Linked DNA regions of Homo sapiens: all the other regions are linked to region 1. The links are contacts of gene promoters, found by promoter capture Hi-C in human tissues and cell types (Jung and others, 2019). All regions are on one chromosome and are shown on one strand. Each heading gives the region's core, a stretch centred on a gene start or on the middle of the fragment in contact. The rest is flanking DNA. Distances are from core to core; before and after follow the strand shown. Region 1 holds the start of CDC14B (cell division cycle 14B). Region 2 overlaps CDC14B (cell division cycle 14B). Region 3 overlaps CDC14B (cell division cycle 14B).

Region 1 (4,916 bases), core at 1,395-3,894:
CACTTTGGGAGGCCGAGGAGGGCGGATCACAAGGTAGGAGATCGAAACTATCCTGGCTAACACGGTGAAACCTCGTCTCTACTAAAAATACAAAAAATTAGCCGGGCGTGGTGGCAGGCGCCTGTAGTCCCAGCTACTTGGGAGGCTGAGGCAGGAGAATGGCGTGAACCCGGGAGGCGGAGCTTGCAGTGAGCCGAGATCGCGCCACTGCACTCCAGTCTGGGCGACAGAGCGAGACTTCGTCTCAAAAAAAAGAAAAGAAAAGAAAAAAAAAGAAAATGTTCCACAGTTGTTTTCATTTCAGGGTAAATTTACCTAGGAAAGATAGGAATATTTTAGAGAATCCCTCCTTTTTTTTTTTTTTTTCCTTTTCATTGTGCTGCCATAATGTTGAGAATCAACCAGACGCATCTGTTCCCTAAGCGCCACAGTTCAGGAAAAGACAAGCCAGATCCTAGAGAGTTTTGGTTCCCACCCCAGCCTGGCCACTGCCACTCATCTGGGTCCCCGTGTCCTCACTGTGAAAGGATAGCCTTGGACCAAATATTGTCTAAGGAGCTTTCAAGCTCTAAAATTCTATGATGAGTCGTCAAGCAATGAACAACAAACTAACCAGGGAAGCAAACTAAAATACATTTCCTGTGGCCAAATTCTCAGAGCCCAGGAGTCAACTTATCAAAGAGGGGGAGGAGTCAAACAGTTCAAGAGCAGTGCCACACACACAAAACAAGTATCAGCTAGGAAACAGCACTTTTCTGCCTCTATCTAAACATGACCTAAAAACAAAATATAAATAGGGTTTAAAACTTTAATGTGTATACTCAGCACACAGACTTCCTATTCACAAGAAGGGAAGATACTTTCGCGTAATTACAAAGTGTAGTCCTATACTTTGTCTGTTCCTACTATACAAAGCATAAAATTATATACTTGCAAAGTATGAAAATATTTAAATGGTATAATTATCTGTATTTATGACACTTTTTTTTTTTTTTTTCTGAGACGGAGTCTAGCTCTGTCACCCAGGCTGGAGTGCAATGGCACGATCTCGGCTCACTGCAACCTCTGCCTCCTGACATTTAAACAAATTACTCTCAAAAGATCATAATGTCATGGAGGTAGTTTCTCTGTACTTCCAGGGAGCCACACGGACCACTCTCCTGTAATATCTATTCAAAACAAGACCCACTCATTTAAAATCCCTGGTAGTCTGGGAAACTGGGTGGCTTTCCAATGCTGAGCCCCTAGGCCGGTCTGAAAGGTCTCCTCCTCCTCCTCCAGGTCAAAACAAAGGACTGTGACCCTACCGTTTCTGCTCTCTAAAACTTACTTGCGCAGCGCCGCACAGCCTCCCACGTCTCTAGCTTCTTTGCTGCCCCTACAGACAGACATGTAGATCATTTTAAATTTAAGGCCTTCACTGATTTCCTTAGGGGAAACAGAGGAAGAGTGAACAGGAGAACCAACCTTAAGAAAAAGTGCTTACAGAGTTGCTGATCTCTAGCTTCAGACACAGCCCCCCTACTTCCTTATTTAGCCGTGCTTAAGGTAAAAGCCCACAACAATAGAAGTCAAAGAGCCCCTTCCTGAGGTGCTCTATGAAAATTTGCATTTCTGAGAGGCTTCCAAGGGGACTGACTCAAATTCATCTTTCTTTTCCCCAGGCTGGCAGTTAACTGCGGAACTGCAGGATAAAACGTTCAAGTGCTGGTGAAAAATAGGGACAGCTTGCAGATGTTGTAAAATTTGGGGCCGTGAAATCTTAACACTGCCCTCCAATCTTCTCACCCTTTTAGATGCTACCATGGACGTTTGTTTAAAGGCCCTCCAAAATGACAGTTTTTGGTTAAGTTCCAGGAAGATAGGGCATTATTTTAATCCAGTAGAAAAAGAAGAGGATATGACCCTACAGTGTGCCAGATAAAGAAGTTTAAGGACAAAACTTGCCCCTTGCTTCAATACTTCATGATATAATCGGACCTGTCGACACCTCAGTATACACAGCAATGAGTGTATAAACTTACTGAATTAATGTGGGCGCTGGATTCCGAGATGAGAAACTCTGAGGTGCAAACAACCACGGTATATTGTGGTTCCACGGAAGTTTCATCGGGTCCTTAAGAAGCCCTTGCTTGGCCTGTTTGAATGCTGGGCATAGGTCGATAAATAGAGCGTAGTTGTTTAAATAGTTTTACTTAAGTTCTGAAATCAACTCTACTTTAAATCTATATAGCTGCAGGTAATGTAATCAGGCCATCCTCTTCCAAGCTGGCAGCCATGGCAAAAGTCCCTTTCTCTTGGCGCGAATTACAAGGAAATTCAAGAAATACTTTAAGATATATATATGCCAAAGACCTGGAGTTAAGTTACTAGGGTGGGGCTGTGTAAATGTTTGGTGACTCACTAAAGAAAGTTGGGATCTGGGGTGCTGGCACCTGGAGGACACAGAAGAAACAAAAGTTGGGGGGCTGGCGAAGGTCGCTAGCACACTTTATCTCTGATTGGCGGAAGCCCTCAGAGTTTTCTTTATGGCGTCACCGAGTACCTGCCTGTAGAAAGGCCCCGTCTCCGTGACGTCACGCCGCATTGGCCAATGAAAGGCCTCAGTCTGCGGGCCCCGAGGAGGGTTGTGGGCCCTTTTTTGTGAATGAAGCGCCACGGAACAGCCCTCCTGGGGTCCCCACGAGCCGCGTCCTGCTGTGCCCCGGCGCCTACGCAGCAGCGGCCGCGGCCGCGGTGGGCACGCACGGTTACCCCGGGCAGCTCCGGCCGCCAGCTGCAGCCCCGTCGCCTCGGCCGCGCCAGCCGGCTGCGGGCACCTGGGGGCGGGCTGGGGGCGCCGGCCGCGGCAGGAGGCGCTGTAGCGAGGGCTGCGGCGCCGGTCCTGCGGCGGCCGCGGGAGGCAGCGGGGCAGGCGCTGTGGGCCGGGCTCCTCCTCCGGCTCCTGCGCGACCGCCTCCCGCCGGGCTCTGCCGGCGCCCGCCGTCCCCGCAGCGCCGCTCTGCGCCCGCCGCCCCGAGCGCCCGCGCGGGGCTGGCGGGAGCCTCGGCGGGCGCGCGGGCGCGCGGGGCCATGGTCGTGGCCCCCTGACGGGCCGCGGCCGCCTCCATGAAGCGGAAAAGCGAGCGGCGGTCGAGCTGGGCCGCCGCGCCCCCCTGCTCGCGGCGCTGCTCGTCGACCTCGCCGGGTGTGAAGAAGATCCGCAGCTCCACGCAGCAAGACCCGCGCCGCCGGGACCCCCAGGACGACGTGTACCTGGACATCACCGGTGAGCCGGCCAGTGGGCGCGCGGAGGGCCCCGGACGGCCGCACCCGGCGCGGGGCCCTGGCCCACCTCCCACCGGGCTGCCCGGGGCCTCCGGGGCCGGGCCGAAATGCCTTCGCCCCCACCCCCTTAAACGCCCCGGCCGCCACACCCCCTTTAGGAGCCTGGCTCCTGAGGAGCGCCCCCCGCCCCGAGTTTCTAGCTGCGTGGGCTGCGAGCTTTAACTTTAGCTTGTGCACCCTCCTCCACCAGCAAGATGGACCGAGGGTCACCTTTCTAAGTTGCGGGCGTCAGCCCGGCGCCTCGAACCTGCAGCTCCTCCCCGCGGGCTGCTTCTGAGTTCCTGTGGATTCCGCCTTCAGGGATTGCGAGCCCGGTTGGCCCTCGCGCGAGTCACAACCTCTGAATCAGCCCCTGAGGATTCCCCGAGCGCGCTGAACGCGCCTGGCACGGGAGCTGCCCCTTTTTGGCGTTGGCCAAACCCCCGCTGCTCCGTAGCCTTGGGACCCTGGGCGCCGCGTTGCCCGTCCGGCGCGTAAGCCCGAGCCCCTCTCCTGGGCCTCCCGCGCCCTGCCCCCTAGCGCGCCCCCCGAACGCCTCCGCCTCCCGGGGTCCGCTCCCCGCCGGGGCCTCGAGAAGGAAGGTGTCACGTTGGTGGCATTCGAGCCAGCCGGCAAGACGAATGTCCGGGTTGTCACTTTTGAGAAATCCCAGCCAGCCAGAGCAGGTAGCCAAGCAGCCCTTCGATAGCTGTTCTGTTAGTGCTGATTCGACTGTTCTTGGAGACTCATAAATCCAATTTGGCAGCTGTTAGGTTTGCTGGGATTGACAGTGACGCGTGTGAAGGCATTAAATGTGATGATGTATGTGGCAACGCTGTGTAAACAGCAGAGCTGTCCACGATTTTGAGGGAATTGGCAGTCTGTTTTCAGTGGCGGGGAATGTGTCAACCTCGGTGCGTGGCGTTATTAAAAACTGTTTCCAGCCCCTAGCCTTTGATAAACCAGGTAAGCTGGAGTGGCGAGAACATTAAGTGGAAGTGTTTAGACAAACACAGACGTTTAGGAGAAATAATATTCTAGGTTCATGGACAATCTGGAAACTAAGTTCGTTTTGAAATGAAGCTGAGAGCAGAGCGGGTTTCTCGGCTTTGGTGGATGGCCCTTGGGAACCAGAGCGGGCATAGGAAGGGGTTGCCCTGAGTACCAGTCCCCGGCCGGTAGCTGCGGGGGGTGTGCGGGAGGTGAAGCCTGCTGAGACTGAGAAGCCAAGTCCCGCTAACGTTGTGCCCTTCCCAGGAGAGGGCCTCGCCGAGGACGGATGGGGCTGGGAACGGGTGGGCCTATACATAGTTTCTGCCCGTTATTGTTTATACCTCTTGAAAGGATCTGTGTTGAATGGGATTTAATTTTAGGACAAGTAATGCATTTACATGGTACAGAACTCCAATTCTAAAGGTGCACAGGAGTACGTGCAGAAAAGTTGGTCTCACAGTCTCCAAGTGTCCTTCTCTAGAGGCAACTACTCTTCCCAGTTTCTTGTGAAGCCTTCTAGAAATAGGCTGTGCATGCATACTATATATACTATATATTCTCTACCATACACGTGCGAGTAGCACACATGTTGTTTTGCACATTTTTCCGTTTTCATA
Region 2 (4,916 bases), core at 893-3,392, 86 kb after region 1:
TCTGTTGTTTTTAATCACGAGTCCTCTCCTTCTGCACTATCAAGTGTCTTCTACTTCCTGCTTAAGTCTCTGTTGTCCATTTCATTAAGACAGAAGTTTCTATTATTGTTAAATTTGAACTGTATCTATGTTATAATAGTAATGGTAACTCAATCCAAAGGACCTAATAACAGGAAGTAACATGTCTTACATATCAGTTTATATTTGTTTTTTTGTAGGGACATACTGTGATCTTGGTATACTTGTAATTTTTTAGTTTCCTGGTCGGTTCAGTGCATTTATTTATTTATTTTTTTAATTTTTGTTTTTTGAGACAGAGTTTCGCTCTTGTTGCCCAGGCTGGAGTGCAATGGCACAATCTCGGCTCACTACAACTTCCGCCTCCTGGGTTCAAGCAATTCTCCTGCCTCAGCCTCCCGAGTAGCTGGGATTACAGGCATGCGCCACCATGCCTGGCTAATTTTGTAGTTTTTAGTAGAGGCAGGATTTCTCCATGTTGGTCAGGCTGATCACGAACAAATGAACTTTTTAAATTGGTTGCCTTATTAAATAGTTAGGAAGATAGTGGAAAGATATATCTCTGTAAGTAGGTAAGTAAGTAAATATTGGGAAGCCAGAAACCTAAGTAGATAGTTTTTCCCCCTTTATTCGTGGAGTCAAGATTGCTCATGTTGGAAGCCAGTTAGTCATTCAGGAAAACAGGGAAGTTCCCAGATTCCTTATACTGGAAAAGTTTGCTTGCTTTCTTATTAATTAGCAGCAACTATAATGAGAATTGATTCAGATAAAATAACCAAATAGTATATTTGTATGGCAGCAGTCAGCTCTGTATTCCAAGGGCTGATACCCTAGCAATGAAACACTGTTAAAAGAAGATGATTAGGAACAGGATATACGTCCATTCCCTAGATATACTTATAGCAGGGCAAATTGAGATTCCTGTCTCATGGCAATTTGTAAACAGCTTTTCCGCTAAAGCAAATGAGTTTGAAGTCCTTCAGAGACTCAGTCTTGAGTAGAGAGGTTGTGGGGAGAATACATTTAAAAACGAATTGTGCTGGTCTTCCCCTTGCAGAAAGCAGAAAATGGAGATTTAAATTGGATAATACCAGACCGATTTATTGCCTTCTGTGGACCTCATTCAAGAGCCAGACTTGAAAGTGGTATGTGAAATTATGGCATTAATCTCATTTTGTTATTGAAAATATCTATCCTATATTTTCTTTTGAAAGAGTTACACCAAGCTTGACCAAGTGTTAATTATTATTTAAGCATACTTGGTCACTTCAGTAGATCATTCTGACTGGATTTTAACTTTCTTTTCTTTTGTTTTTTACAGTTATAATCAAATTGGTATTTAATTCCCAGTCCAGATACTGTTTCCGTTCAGTTACAGGTGAAACTATTAGCCATTGTTTTCTTTATGTGTTTTATAAGATCTGGTGCATTTCTTTATGTAGGTTACCACCAACATTCTCCTGAGACTTATATTCAATATTTTAAGAATCACAATGTTACTACCATTATTCGTCTGAATAAAAGGATGTATGATGCCAAACGCTTTACGGATGCTGGCTTCGATCACCATGATCTTTTCTTTGCGGATGGCAGCACCCCTACTGATGCCATTGTCAAAGAATTCCTAGATATCTGTGAAAATGCTGAGGGTGCCATTGCAGTACATTGCAAAGGTATGTTTCTAGGGGTGGTTAAAGAATAGTATACAGTATGAGTATATGAATATGTAGAAACAGACCATATTCATTTAGTTTATGTGTCAGAACATGAAACTGCCTTTATTTTTAGAGTGCCGTGAAACCTTTGATTTCAGATGAAAAGTATAGTAACTTATTTTCATAAGTAATTCTACAAATACATCACATTGAAATGCATTTATTTATTCATCAAATATTTATTGGGTGCATCCTATATAATTCTAGGATACATCAATGAGTAGCGTAGACTGTAAGAGCCTGTCTTAATGGAAACTATATTCTTAACAAGTTGCTCTGTTTTCAGCAATTGTAACAGTGCCTGGCACTTAATAGATATTTTTTGAATAAATGAATGACTATACAATAATAAATGGTATGAAGATAGTAGGATTTATTTAACTCTCTTGTTAGTTAATTAAGAAACAAGAAATATAGTTTTGTTACAAAAATCCAATATTGGAAAAAAAGCTCAGCAAGCCTTGGGGAAAGGGGGAGACTGATCTCCAGAGTTACTGCTGTATTTGTAGTTTTAAATATAATGGCAAAACATCACATTTCAGTTTTTATTGAAAAATTACATGGCATACAAAGAAACAGGAAAGTATAGCCTATTCAAAGGGAAGAAATAAATCCAGGCCGGGCATGGTGGCTCACGCCTATAATCCCAGCACTTTGGGAGGCCATGGCGGGCGGATCGCCTGAGGTCAGGAGTTTGAGACCAGCCTGGCCAAAATAGTGAAACCCTGTCTCTACTAAAAATACAAAAAAATTAGCTGGGTGTGGTGACGGATACCTGTAATCCCAGCTACTTTGGAGGCTGAGGCACAAAAATCACTTGAACCCGGAAGGCAGAGGTTGCAATGAGCTGAGATCATGCCACTGCACTCCAGCCTGGCCAATAGACAGAACAAAAAAAAGAAGAAGAAATAAATCCACAGAAGCTATCCCTGAGAAAGATCAAATTGTGGACTTAGTAGGCAAAAAATTTTAAATAACCATCTTAAAGATACCCAAGAGTTAAAAGAATATGTGGGAAAAGTCAAGGAAACGATTTATGAAGAAATACTAATATCAGTTATAAAAAGAACACATAAAAGGGAACCAAAAGGAAATTCTGGAAATGTACTAAAACTGAGATGAAAAATTCACTGGAGGGATTCAAAAGCATATTTGAGCAGGCAGAAGAATCAGTGCGTGTGAAGCTAGAATCATTAAAGAATTAGCAAGTCTGAGGAACAGAAAGAATAAAGAGCATAACATAAATGAACAGAATTTAAGGGATCCCTGAGACACACCCAAGTAGACCAAGATACAGATCGTGGGAGTTCCAGAGGGAGAAGAGAAGTAAAGGAGCAGACAGATGATTTGGCTGAAAACTCCCCAGATTTGATATATGCAGGAATATCCAAGAAGCTCAACAAACTCCAAGCAGGATAAACTCAGAGGCCCATGTGAACATGCATTATAATCAAGCTATAATGCCACAGACAGTCTTGAAAGCAGCAAGAGAGAAGTGACCTACCACATACAGGGGATACCACTGAGATTGTCAGCAGATCTCTCATCAGAAACATTGCAGGCCAGAAGGCAGTGGGTTGATATATTCAAAATGCATAAGTGAGGGAAAACCTGTTAAGAATTCTACATCTGGCAAAACTCCTTCAAAAATAATGGAAAAATTAAGACTTTGCCCAGGCAATCAGTTTGCCTTTCTGATAAAGGCAAATACATGGACCATTATAAAAGCTAGTATTATCGTAACGAGATAATTTGTAAAATATTATTACTGTAACTTGTAAATATTGTAACTTGCAAAAAACAAATAGAAAATCTGAATAGACCCCTAACTAGTAAGGGGATTAAGTAGTCCAAAGCCTCCTGACAAAGCAAAACCTTGGATATAATAACATCGCCAGTAAATTCTACCAAACACTTAAAAGGGAGTTTTTAATCACTAGATCTGACTTGCAAGAAACTCTAAAGGGGGAGTCTTTTAGGTTGAAATGAAGGCACACTAGACAGTAACACACAGCCATTTGAGAAGAGGAAATAAAGATTTCTGATAAAGGCAAATACAAGGACCACTATAAAAGCTAGTTTTATTGTAACAAGATAATTTGTAAAATATTATTACTGTAACTTGTTATTGTAACTTGCAAATATTATAATATGTAAATTATTGTAATTTGTAAAATAATTTGTCGTTTGCAAGTAGTATAATTTTTGTGTATTATTATATACAAAAATTGCAAGTAGTATATTATTGTAATTTATAAAATAGAGAGTAGAAAACCAATAGAGAAAATGAACAAAACCAAGGGTTGGTTCTTTAAGAAGAATAACAAAAATGATAAACCTTTAGCTAGAATGATGAAGTATAAAAGGAAGAAGACTCAAATTACTAAAATTAGAAATGAAAATGGCATTACCACTGATACTACAGAAATAAAGCTGATCAGTACGTAAAAATGATCAGTATTGTAGGACAACAAATTGGATAGTCTACATGAAATGGACAAATTCCTAGAAAAACAAAACACCAGAACTAAATCATAAAGAAATAGAAAATCTGAACAGACCCCTAACTAATAAGGAGATTAAGTAATCCAAAACCTCCTGAGAAAGCAAAACCCTGGACATGATAGCATCACCAGTAAATTCTACCAAACACTTAAAAAACTAAAACCAGTCCTTCTCAAACTCTTCTGAAAATTTGAGGAAAAAGGAACACTTTCTAACTCAATAAGGTCAGCATTACCCTGATACCAAAAACAAAAAGACACTATAAGATAACTAACTATAGGCCAGTATCCCTTACGAACATCGATGTGAAAACCTTGAACAAAATACTAGCCAATGGAATTCAGCAGCATATTTAAAAGGATTGTGTGCCATGACCAAGTAGGATTTATCCCATGATTACAAGAGTGGTTCAACATATGAAAATCAATCAGTGTGATATACCACGTTAAGGACAAAAACCATACGATCATCTCTGCACAAAAAGCGTCTGACAAAAGTCATTACCCTTTTGTGATAAAAACACAGTACAAACTAGGTATAGAAGGAGATTACCTCAACATAAGAACCGTATGTGAAAAGCCCACAGCTAACATCATACTCAATGGTGAAAGACTGAAAGCTTTTCCTCTAAGCTCATGAAGAAGACAAGGAGGCTTGGTTTTGTGGCTTCTATTTAAC
Region 3 (4,916 bases), core at 1,571-4,070, 70 kb after region 1:
GGCAGAGGACTTACTTAGAGAGATGGTGGTGAAAGTCTCAAACTGCAGATTTCTAGAACAAACAGGTTACTTGTAAGAAGCAGACAGAGATACTTAGATCAGTAAAATACTTCTGTAACACTAGAAGTGAGAAGACATGAGAACGTTATCTAGAAACTATCAAGAGGAAATGACTGCAGACCAAAAATCCTACGCATAGTAGTCAAATAAAAAATGTCAAGGGAAAAAAAAAATGTTTGGAAAGGCAAGGAATACCAACTATAGACCTCAAATGCTGAAGAATATACTTGAGGTATTCTCCCAGGTTAAAGTCAAAGCATAGCATAGTTCTAAGGACAAAAGAAGTCAATGAGCGTCGAAAACAAGTGCAGTTTGATAATCAACTTGTTCAGTATTGCAAGCCCTCACACCTACATGGACAGAGTTAATCACAGTCTGTGTTCTGCCTTTGTGTCTCTTTCCACCTCACCCCAGTCTAACCCCATCCCCATCTCCTACACGCTGCTTAGCTGTCATTTCAGTGGACTTTCAGGAAGGAGGGGAGGTAAAAGCATGGGATCAGTCTAACGTCTTGATTTGGAAAATCTGTTTTTAAAATACTGTGCTTCTTACCACAAAAGGTTGCTGTGAAGAGTTGTTGGTCAGGGCTTATACTGCAAACAACAGAAACCAGCAATGGAGGATTTAAACAAAAAAGAAATCTATGGACAGGATTCTGGGTGATTCCTAGGCTCCTGGGGAAGGCTGGAGAACCCTGCTCAGTTGGTTGGAAATTGGACAAAATTTACTTCGCAGTGACAGCACTGTATCTTCACTTAGAAATAAATTGCCTTTTTCTTCTTTTTTCAAACATAGGTTATATATTTGGGGAGAACCCCAGAAGAAGCATATAGAATATTAATCTTTGGAGAGACATCCTATATTCCTTTCAGGTAAATATAAGAATGATGTGGTAGATTCAGGTAATCAGATCCTTGCCAGAAATATCTTGATAGTTGTTTCTGAAAAAAGAAGATCTGGTAAATAGTCATTTTAGGATGAGCGCAAATAACACCACAGATCTGGGTTTTTCCACAGTGACACTGTTGACGTTTTGTCATGGAGGCTATCTTGTGCGTCGTAGCATGTTTAGTGGCCTCCGTGGCTTCTGCCCACTAGATGCTGGTAAAATCCCCACACCCACTCTAATTGTCAAAACTCAGAATGTCTTCAGACATTGCCATATATCCCTGTAAGTGACCTTGGGGGATGGAGAGCAAAATCTCCCTACGCTGAGAACTACTGCCATTGATGAAAACTAAGCTTTGGCTGGGCACAGTGGCTCATGCCTGTAATCCCAGCATATTGGAATGCCAAGGTGGAATGATTGCGTGAGCCCAGGAGTTCCAGACCAGCCTCGGCAACAAAGACAGACCCCATCTCTATAAAAAAATTTTAAAAAAAATTAGCCAGGCGTGGTTGCACATGCCTGTAGTCCCAGCTACTTGGGAGACTGAGGCTGGAGGATTGTTTGAGCCTAGGAGTTCGAGGGTGCAGTGAGTGAGCTATGGTCATACCACAGCACTCAAGCCTGGGCAATAGAGAGATAACTTGTCTCAAAAAAAAAAAAAAAAAAAGCAAACCCCAAAACCTAGGCTTTGTATCAGGTGAGAATCCTGGGTTATTGTACTCAAAACTACCACTGAGGAGTGTGGTTCCTGAGAAGTTAAGAAACGTTCCCAATAATCAGTAGTTACTTTCTGGGACCAAAATGAACCCCTTTTTTCTGGGGACACAGTCAGTAGAGACAGTCGATAAGGTTGCTAATGCAGTACCACTTCCAGAAAAACCAGTCAAGTCACTGTGTTCCAGAGGTGGTAGTTAGTGATGTCTACAGGAATGGATGACATCATCTCAAACTTAGCATGCGATTGTGTTGAAGATATTTCTAGAAGACTAGTGCTTAAATCAAGTTCTAAAAATTTTTCTGCTCGTTTATCAAAATACTTGACTTAGCTCTATAGTTTAAATACTTGTATGGTACTTAATGGGTAATAAATGTATGAAATAATTTTACTCATTGAAGACTTTGATATTTTCAAAAACTGCTTGTTCTTCCATTCACAAATTAATAATAACTATTGCTTATTAGTTCATTGTTCAAACTAATTAGTTCGTTAGTTTATCGTATTAGGATTGTTACATAAACCACAAATGCCTGATTTTGAATGTATGGCCCTAACTTTAAAAAAGGGAGTTTGTGAATCTGACTTTATTGTAGATGAGCCTTGGGATGGGTATTTCTAATTATTGGCAGAATCTCCCTTTCAAATAACTTTATAGGCCTGCCTGTGGACTTACTCCATGAAATAACAATTTGTCAGGGCAGTCTGAAGACTTCAGTAATACGCTGCATGAAAAATTGTGAAAATCTGTGATTGAGCAAATTAGAATTGGCTTGAACCCAGTATCATCCCTTTCTGCTAGCTCATGGCTCATCTTAAGTATTCTTTTATTTGAGGTGGGTAGGAAGGGAAGAGGGGGAAATAAAGATCATTTTCTAAGCTGGAAAATTCTTCTCAACCTATAACATAATAGCAACCACATTCTTCCTTTAAAAGAAATGCTTGTATTTTTGGTCTTGAGTCACAGGCACCTTGGTCATCTCTTGATGTAGTGACATTTGTTCTATAGAACTCTTCTTTATAATGGTAATCTTTTGTGATGCCACTCTTAGATTTACAGCACAAGGTCCTGAAATAGGAACATGCTCACACATTTCGCACTGTGCAATGAAGGATCCATGGAACACTGTTGATGTGAAAAAAGACGTTTTGAGTTAATTTAAATACAGGTGCCAAAAACAGAATAAGCATTGCTTACTGCCTTGCTATGTTTCAAATTATTAAAGTTTGGCACTGAGAAATGAAGTTAGTTCCTTTTGGTCCCAGGAGCATCAGTCAGTAATTCTCCAAAAGGCAAGACTTAGCTAGAAACCATTCAGCTTTGTGGAATTTGAATCTCTTCTATTGTAGATACTAGGTATTTGATTTATCTAAACAGTGTTTCTTTCTTTTTTTTTTTTTAGACGGAGTCTTGCTCTGTCGCTAAGCTGGAGTGCAGTGGTGCAATCTGGACTCACTGCAACCTCTGCCTCCCAAGTTCAAGCGATTCTTCTGCCTCAGCCTCCCGAGTAGCTAGGACTACAGGCGTGTGCCACCACGCCTGGCTAATTTTTGTATTTTTAGTAGAGAATGGGGTTTCACCATGTTGGCCAGGATGTCTTGATCTCTTGACCTCATGATCCGCCCGCCTCAGCCTCCCAAAGTGCTGGGATTTCATAAAGTGTGGCCTGTGAACTGGTGCCGATCTGTGACATTTTGTTACCAGCCTGTGTTGAGATAAATACAGAAGTTGAGAATAAGATTTTAGAAACATTTATAGTTATCGAATAGAGCAATTTTATGTCTGTAGAATCAAATAGTAGAAGAAATTTGAGCTTGTATTTTGTTTTTTTTCCCCTTTCATTTTTCTAGTAATTTATTTTATTCACAAAAATAAGATTATTGCATTACTGGATATGTAATAGTATAGTACTATTGCATTTCATATTTATCTTACAAAAGTGTCAACCTGTGATAGACTTAGTTTTTAAATTTAGTGCTTCTTCACATAGTGTTCTATAGAACTTATCAATTAGAAAGTAGTCCAATCAGAATTAATAAAGCCTGATAATATTTTGATAGAAATGACATTATATTCTTTGTATCTTGCCACTTTAAGTACATAGAATAAATATGACCAACAAAGTATTGCTAACACGACGTTGTGCAAGAATGGCATTCATTTATAGCAAATAAGTTCTTTTATGTTCTGTAGCAATGTTTTATTTAATTAGATTTAATTCAACTTAGATAGAATTCTCTCTCTCTCTTTTTTTTTTTTTTAAAGACAGATTCTTGCTCTGTCACCCAGGCTGGAGTTCAGTGGCGCAATCTTGGCTCACTGCAACCTCTGCCTCCCAGGTTCAGGGAATTCTCATGTCTCAGCCTCTAGAGCAGATGCCACCATGCCCGGCTAATTTTTGTATTTTTAGTAGAGATGGGGTTTCACTAAGTTGCCCAGGCTGGTCTCAACCCCCTGGCCTGAAGTGATCCGCCTACCTTGGCCTCCCAAAGTGCTGGGATTACAGGGGTGAGCCACTGTGCCCAGCCTTCTTTAACCACTGAGTTTTAAAGTGTGTGTGTATGTATGTGTGTGTGTATGTGTGTATATGATTTCTTATTGAGTTATATTAAATATTTCTCTGTGTCTGGTCTGCATAATTAAATAGTATAAAATATAGTTTAATTTTTTTTAAATATCATAGGATCATTGTTATGAACAGTGTGTATTTCTGTTCTCTGGTATTATCTGTTATAATACTCTTTGCTTCTTAGTTGTTTTTGTGTGTGTGGGGCTTGCCTCTGCTTCCTGTTTTCTTGAGAGGTAGTATTGTATATTTGTTAATAGCTTGACTTGACATCAGACAGATGGGAGTCTTGCTGTCAGCTCTGCTACTGACATCTCTGTGGTCCTTTACAGATTTGAGCCTTGGTCTCCTAGTCTTTAAACAGAAACAATAGGCTGGGCGCTGTGGCTCACGCCTGTAATCCTAGCACTTTGGGAGGCTGAGGTGGGCAGATCACAAGGTCAGGAGATCGAGACCATCCTGGCTAACACGGTGAAACCCCGTCTCTACTAAAAATACAAAAAATTAGCCAGGCGTGGTGGCGGGCGCCTATAGTCCCAGCTACTCAGGAGGCTGAGGCAGGAGAATGCTGTGAACCCGGGAGGCAGAGCTTGCATTGAGCTGAGATGGTGCCACTGCACTCCAGCCTGGGCAACAGAGCGAGGCTCCATCTCAAAAAAAAAACAGAAACAGAAACAATAATACA

Evidence for each region. The method cuts DNA at HindIII sites, captures the fragments that hold promoters and counts their contacts. A contact is called where the count stands out against the background at its distance.
Region 2: a fragment that was not itself captured here is called in contact with the fragment with the promoter of CDC14B in region 1 in 4 of the 25 tissues and cell types used here (IMR-90 fibroblasts, dorsolateral prefrontal cortex, hippocampus and 1 more).
Region 3: a contact is called between a fragment that was not itself captured here and the fragment with the promoter of CDC14B in region 1, in 3 of the 25 tissues and cell types used here (dorsolateral prefrontal cortex, neural progenitor cells and thymus).

What each region holds. Positions count from the first base shown.
Region 1 is chr9:96,617,571-96,622,486 of GRCh38, reverse strand. CDC14B (cell division cycle 14B) reads left to right here and starts at 2,644. Exons shown (of 14, transcript NM_033331.4): 1 at 2,644-3,268. The coding sequence starts at 3,109. RefSeq lists an enhancer at 2,993-3,493. The HindIII fragment of the contact is 32,033 bases long and covers 1-4,916 here.
Region 2 is chr9:96,530,702-96,535,617 of GRCh38, reverse strand. CDC14B (cell division cycle 14B) reads left to right here. Exons shown (of 14, transcript NM_033331.4): 8 at 1,076-1,163; 9 at 1,461-1,691. Among named protein-coding and RNA genes, the nearest start is that of HABP4, 83 kb to the right of the region's middle. The HindIII fragment of the contact is 6,580 bases long and covers 1-4,916 here.
Region 3 is chr9:96,547,812-96,552,727 of GRCh38, reverse strand. CDC14B (cell division cycle 14B) reads left to right here. Exons shown (of 14, transcript NM_033331.4): 5 at 856-932. Among named protein-coding and RNA genes, the nearest start is that of CDC14B, 70 kb to the left of the region's middle. The HindIII fragment of the contact is 7,710 bases long and covers 1-4,916 here.